2 separate regions of the Homo sapiens genome follow, and region 2 is linked to region 1. The links are contacts of gene promoters, found by promoter capture Hi-C in human tissues and cell types (Jung and others, 2019). All regions are on one chromosome and are shown on one strand. The core of a region is centred on a gene start or on the middle of the fragment in contact, and the rest is flanking DNA. Distances in the headings are between cores, read along the strand shown.

Region 1 (3,610 bases), core at 356-2,855:
TGGTATCCAAGTTGCAAGACAAAGTCCTTTTCACTCTTCCCTCTTCTCTCCTCAAGCAAAGGAAGGAGTCCCTTTTGGAGCCATAAGCTGTGTTGCCTGGGGTTGGGGGAGGGGTGCTGTAAGCACTTACTTAGCCATCCTGGCTGGTGTCTTACTAGATCGTGCGCTCCCCAGTCCACTGGCTCAGAGCCCAGCACAGCACTAGGACTTGCCTGGGTATTGCAGTTGTTGTGGCCCAGACAGGCTTTCAAGTTTATTTAGGACCTCAGAGCACTTTAGCCCATGGTGGTGGAGGTAGTCAAAACTCAGTTTCTGAAACCTGGGATGGGCAATTCTCCTCTGGCTAAGGGTGGTCTAAATGGTCCCTCCATTGGCAACAGCTAAGTTCTGCCCCGTATTGGCAGCACTGAATTCTAGAGTCCCACAATCGCTGTGCCCTCCCTCCAAGTGCACAGATTCTCTCTCCACACTATGTGGCTGCTGCCAGGGGATGGGGGAGGGGTGGTGTCAGCAATTCAAGATTGTCTTTCTTATCTTCCTCAGTGCTTCTTTCAACAATACGAAGTTAAAACCAGGTACTGTGATCACTTTGTGATCACTGATTTTTGGTTCTTATGAAGGTGCTTTTTTGTGTAGATAGTTGTTAAATTTGATGTTCGTGCATGGAGAACAATCAGTGAAGGCTTCTGTTTGGCCATCTTGCTCTGCGTCCTCCCCAACTTAGGATTTTTTTACTTTATCATGGGTTCATCAGGGTATTGCATGCATTTTTGACTTACAATATTTTCAACTTGTGGTGGTTTATTGAGATGTAACCCTATCATAAGTCAAGGAGCACCTGTACTATGGTAATAGAGACAGCTAGTATATCCCTTTAAATAGGAAACATACAGTGTCATAAGCTCAATGTGATTTATTCAGATTTAGACCCTAGTAATTATAAAAGTCTATACAAGTTTTTTTTTCTTTCTCAGCAATCTTAACTTCCTGTGACTGAGATTCATTGTTTTAAAGTGCATTCACAGTTGAGAAGGTTTACTTCAGAATCTCAGGGAACTGCACTAAAGAATCTGGTATCAATTTTCTGAGGATTTAAAAAAATCATACTTAAATGCTGAGTTATAAAAGATGTTGGCAAGTACAACATTTTTTCCAAACTATACGATAAAGAGCATTGAAATTTATCATGCCCCAAACCCATTAAAATTATCTTCACCTGTAACTGAACATCAGCTGTTATTTCCTTACCTTCTTTTGGCTTTCAACTTCTAGGATGTCTGTTGAAACACCCCTCAATGTTTATGTGGCCTCCAAGGCATACAAACATTTACCAGGGTAACCCCATAAGGAAAGAATTGGAAGTTTCATTTATTTTTTTCCTACCTTTAGTTCTCTTTTTTCCATCTTTCAGATCTTTAGATGTTCTGAGTTTTTCTAGCTGGAGACTGGGGAAACCTAGCTCCCCTCACTGTGGCCAGTGGAAGACTGCTGTGGAGAACCTGAATCCAAAGTGTTTTTTGTTAGGAGACGAAGTAAACAGGCCAGTTTACAGTTTCAATACCAGTATGCCTTTTTCTCTACCAACATCTGTGTGATTTACATCTTGAATCATATAATTCCATTCAGAATGAAAAGCTCAGTTTCTGATTGGCTGAAATGAGTTCTAGTATTCCTTTCTTTGTTAGAAGTCAAAATCACAATGTTCTGGAACATTAGCATGTGTTGGGTAAAGTTGATAACAGTATACTAAAACTCAGATAGCTGCTTCAGTACTGAAGTCAGAACAGTTCTCCCTGGAAAGACAACCAAACTTTTCTCTTATTGTAGCACTACATTGTAATTGCTTATTTAGCTATTTTGTAAGCTACTTTTATTCTGTTACTTCTCTGGTATTCCCAGGGTCCAGGACATTATCATGAATTCAAGAAATGTTTGATGCATAAATAAAGGAATGAAAATATATAAGGAATATTATGTTTACTAAAGGCATAATAGTTTGGCTCTTCCTGACTATCCTGAGTTATGATCAACTCTGAAAAAGGGAGTAATTTTTCAAGTCTATTAAACATAGCAGGGTGGAGGTGGAGGTAAGAAGAGTTGGGGAAAGGTATATTATGAAACATAGAAATACTATTTACTAAATACATATTAACAAATCTTAGCATAATTTAATTTTACTCCAGGCTGCCCCCCATCCCTTTCCCCTGCCCTCTTTTTTCTTGCCTATAGAATGTAAGGAAGGGAACACACTTCTTTGTTAAGGAAAACTGAGTAAGGTTGTCATTTCATTCTGTTATGACTGGAGTTTTTCCTTCTCATCATTCATCAGGTCAATTTAAGTTTTATACATCTAAACTGTGTAACACTGCATATAAAAATAAGTCCATGTTTAAGACAAAGTGGAAAAGTACCAAACACTTTTAAAAAATGAATTGAAGAAAACCTTCTCTTTGACAACTTCGGTTTTCATTTGGGGAGGTGGTATGAAATCATCTAGGTACATTTTTGTCTATTGGGATGAAGAATGCTATCCACTAAGAATATTGATTTAAAAATCAAATGCCTGGACTGGAGGGGAAGGAAAGGACAAAAGACTGCATGCTATGTGCTATTTTACATCAAGTCACCTCCTTCCTGCTATACATGAGCTTCAGTTGATGCCTTGGTTTGGAGCCTTTGAACTTTCTTAGTTATCACTGATTTTAAATGGTAGTCACTGGACCGGGGATACAATTAAAATAATGTAACATGCCATATGAACATTTTAAACCAAGAAACTGATTTTTCATTTTTGAGTGGAGAACTCAGTCCTTAAAAAAATTTGTGGTCCGAAGAAACAGCATTACTAATGAGGACTCTCCCTTTTACAACTGGGGGTTCCTGCCCACATCTTCCAAATACCTCCTTTGCCAGGGCTTGCCTAGGTCAGATGTGAAGTAAATAGAACTGATGAATGATTTTTTTGACTCTCTTGTCATGTAGTTTTCTGTCATCTTAATATGCTGAAGGGGAGCACATTCAGAAGTGATCTCATTTGAGAAGGACTACTTTCAAGTTCTATTTTAGGCCACATAAATTTTCAAAAAATAAAATTCTGAATTAAATCTTAAACCTTTGGGAAGGCTTCAGATCACATATTTGGTGGAATGTACTATATTACCTAAATAATAAACATTTTATTTGGATACATCTTTGGGATGCTTGTTAAAAAATTATAGATTAAAATTTTAGTGTTAGAATTACCATTTGAGGATAGAGGAATAAAAAGTTCTCTATTCCTTCAAACTTATATGGACTCCATTTTTCTAGTGCTTTACTGACATCATGAAGAGTCTTTCTTCTCAAGGTGGCAACATTTCCTTGCCTTGTACTTTTATTCTGAATGATGTGGTTTTTCGCCCTTACATTTGCCATATAGAATTTATGAGGTTTATGTGTTTTTGCTCTACAGTTTCTTCTATGATCTTACATTTTATCTCCCTTAAGAGTGTTTAGAAAAACAATAATAGGAAAAAATATTTTGGTGCAATAATAAGTAAAAATGGGATTCCTGGAGGTGGATTGGAATTATTTAGTCTTCTGTGTTTTTTCTAGACATCCATAAATTTTC
Region 2 (3,610 bases), core at 754-3,253, 69 kb after region 1:
ATAATAATACTGTACACTAGTCATATAAATATGAATATATACTTTGTATGAATGTAGAGGCATACAGTTTTCAAGTTGTTTCACTTATATAGTTTGTTTTGAACTTTAGACCAGCTTCATGATATAAGTAGACTTATTATTTGCTTTTTCAAAAGCTAAGAGTCAAAAAGGTTTCATAATTTTTCCAAGGCCATACAATAAATTGAGAGCGTTCATAAAATGAAAATTCAAGTTTCCGAGCTCTAAGTTCAGTAATCAATAAGCACAAATCAATCAGGAAAAGTGGGACATTTTCTTATATCTGTGAGGAAGAAAGTTCTGTTGAAATAGAAGAATCTGTGATTAGGTCAGGGGGCCATATGAATACATTTCAGCTAGGGGCTCTTCTGTATATATTTTTACTTGTTTTCAACATTAGATACAAAAATGAATAAAAGCTCTGAAGAAAAACCCTTAGCTTTCTGAGTGCTTTTAATATGTGTCATATTATTTTATATCTACAAATCTTAATTTCATTATTAGTGAGACAGGGACAAGACTGGCATAAACCTTAGGACTATTGTGAAGAAAGATGACAAATTTGATTATAAACCAGTAACAGTCAAATCTATATATTCCATGGAATGCAGAAAGAATGTATCAGAGAGTGATCTGGGTTTTGATGGGTAGGAAGATGTTCATCCGGTATAGAATAAATGACAGCATCTTGCAGGCAGGAGGAACTACACATGCAAAGGTGCAGAAACAGGGCAGAGGATGGTGCACCTGTGGCCTGTGGATATGGCTGCTTGGTGGATGGAGCATCAGGGGTGTATGTGGGTGGCGGAAGTGTGAGGAGAATACCTTGAGGTGGGGATTTGAAAAAGAAGAGTAATCTCAGAGGTCCTCCTCCACTGTGCTGAATGGGGAAACAGAAAATTTAGGAAAGTGAAATGATCAGATCCCTATTGTGTTTGCTTGTGTCTATTGGAAAGGATTTTCAAGACCATTTGTTTTGCTCTTAATTTTTATTTACTTAAGTCCTCCAAAGGATCTGGATCACTCAGGATTCAGAGGGCAGGTGGTGCATATGGGTCTTCCAGAGAGCAGACATTAATATATTAGAAGCCAGAGGCCCAGGGTATTGATTGCTTTGAGCTGTATCTTCCAAATGTGCACCAGAATCACCAAAGGAAAGAGGTAACAACTTTTTCCTTACCACTGTAACTACTGGAGGTGAGTCACTTGGTATTTCTAAAACCACAGGTATACTCCAGATAGCCTTGAAAGACACACCCTTGTTGGTGAAAATACGTTAACTAAAGGGAAGCAAGTATACTAAGGTGCTCAGTAGCTCAATTTTAGTATAGTTTGTTTATACATTTTTGAGTTTTTATTTTCCCTGAGGCTTATGCTGTAGTGATTTAGGGACTCTATAGTTCAAATAAATTCTGTAACACAGACAGCTGACACAGAGGACTAGAATGTTAAAGTCCTGCTCATTCCTTGCCTATTTCCAGTTAACACTCATATAAAAAGAAAAAAAAAGTTCACTTTACAAATAGTCAACTAAAAGATATAAGAACTTTAGTCATTGAAATGACTTTTTTAGCCTTTAATGGAATGGCAATTTTAAGATACAATCTCTCTACCTTCATAGGCAAATCCTTGCAAATCAATAAATTGGAATTTCTTCATGAATTCTTAACACTCACAGTGAGATTTGTAGTGACAGCTCTAGGTTCAAAAGTGCATTCCTGTTGTAAGTGGACAACATGGGATCATCCAGTGGAATGAAGTCCAGTATTACACACACAGCTGTACTCTGAGATGTAATTTTAGACGTCAGGATAATGTATGTTGAAGCTGTGTAAAACCACAATCCACCAGTGGATCATGATGCCTTTTGGCAAACTGTTGTTTATTGTATTAGTCTCCTTTGGCTGTTCAATGATCTGGGAAGCTGACGGATCGGAATTTGTCACTTAAGCCATTCATCCTCAGCTGCCAGGAGGTGGGCACATTCTGACCTCTGGCATTAAAGCTGGGCAGAGTTCCATATGCCATTCTATGAAGAATGTAGTCACATAGCTCCAATAAAGACATCCTGTTTAGCAATACAGTGTGAAGAAAACTTCACAACAATTGTTTAGATATTTTCTGTCCATTTTAGTTGGGTAGAAGTCTGTTTTCCTTTCACCCATGTATAAAATAAAAGGGTGTCTTGAAATGGTGTATTAGAATGTGTTTCTCCTCTAGCACTAACTTGAAAACATCCAAACTTATTTTCCTGAAAACACATAAAAACTGCTAAGCTGAGACCTGATATATCAAGTTTCAGCCTGAAGAATTTTTTTGAGCCAATGGTTTATGCAGAAAATGCTGACAGATGTTGAACAGCCTCAGCAAAGCAATTTTTAAGGGAGTCCTGGGCAACAGACCATGTGGCTGCTTTGGAAGTGCTAAATTCTTATTGCTAAAAAAGTTTACTTTAAAAAATCCTAGTATTTATTATATTAAAATTTTAACAAATATTTGGAGAAAACCATCAATTATTCTATAGCAGAAGCTTTGGAACTCACTAGTTCCCATTTTGTGTATTCATTCTCTGGAACACAAAAATTTCTTAGATTTATCATTCTAAAAGGTCAGATAAGAGTCATACTTCTGGAATTATGACCTTTGAAGCAAAAGGTGTAATATCTAAATTTTTTTAATTGCCATGGGAAGTCTCAGAAACCAAGAGAATATAGATGGTAAACATTTGTGGCACTAAATTTTCCTTCCTAAGATACTAAAATATGAGTCAGGAGAACTACAAACAACACAGGTCTGATCAGAAACAACTGAATGTTTATAAGTGTTCTACAAGGGTTGCAGACTTTCCCAGGAGGGTAATAATTTAAAGGATGTCAGTGGATGCAAATGAATTTCAGCCATAGAAAGGAAGAAGAGGTGAATAGTACTTTTGTCTCTGGGAGACTTGGAATTTCAGACAGGCTCCATTTTGGATAATTCTATTTAGCCTGTCTACATTTTCTGATGTTGTTTCAGTTGGGAATGATAGAATGATATTCCTTATCCTGCATCCTGAACTGTTCAGCAGTGTCATGCTATGCTGTTAACAGCTGCCTGCCTCCATGTATATACAGATAGATGAGTTCCCTGCTGATATAAAAAGATTTTATGAATTGTGTCTTGTGTAAAAGAGAGCACTTTTAATGTGAGTGAGAACTGGAGCTTTTTTCTTCTCCCATGATTTCATTAGCATACCCCAGGCTCTGATATTCTAAAAGATTATCTAGATACTTTATTGCATTGCTAGGTTCCTTGAAGAATTGTTTTACGTTACGTTTTCTCCTAAACTAACTACAGAATTTCCTTTCTTCCTCTGTAGTGATACCACGACAGTTAAGTAATCTTTGAAAAGGCTGAATATCACCTAAATAATCAAATGGCACAAAAATATTGGTTTGCAAAAAAAATCCAGCTCTCTGTGTTCATCAGCATATTAAGTCACTAGCTGTAAGAATATTCCACATACAAGACACACAAACACACACACACACACACACACACACACAAGATAAAATGGAAGGGTATGAAAAATGTGAGCAACTTTGCAATGTTA

The links. Contacts are between HindIII fragments. The study calls those that stand out against the background at their distance.
Region 2: a fragment that was not itself captured here is called in contact with the fragment with the promoter of C1orf105 in region 1 in 2 of the 25 tissues and cell types used here (aorta and hippocampus).

What each region holds. Positions count from the first base shown.
Region 1 is chr1:172,418,680-172,422,289 of GRCh38, reverse strand. C1orf105 (chromosome 1 open reading frame 105) reads right to left here and starts at 1,605. Exons shown (of 7, transcript NM_139240.4): 1 at 1,384-1,605. The coding sequence starts at 1,404. All of the region lies in intron 1 of LOC102724528 (a long non-coding RNA gene), which reads left to right. The HindIII fragment of the contact is 11,853 bases long and covers 1-3,610 here.
Region 2 is chr1:172,350,270-172,353,879 of GRCh38, reverse strand. All of the region lies in intron 17 of DNM3 (dynamin 3), which reads right to left. Among named protein-coding and RNA genes, the nearest start is that of C1orf105, 69 kb to the left of the region's middle. The HindIII fragment of the contact is 7,147 bases long and covers 1-3,610 here.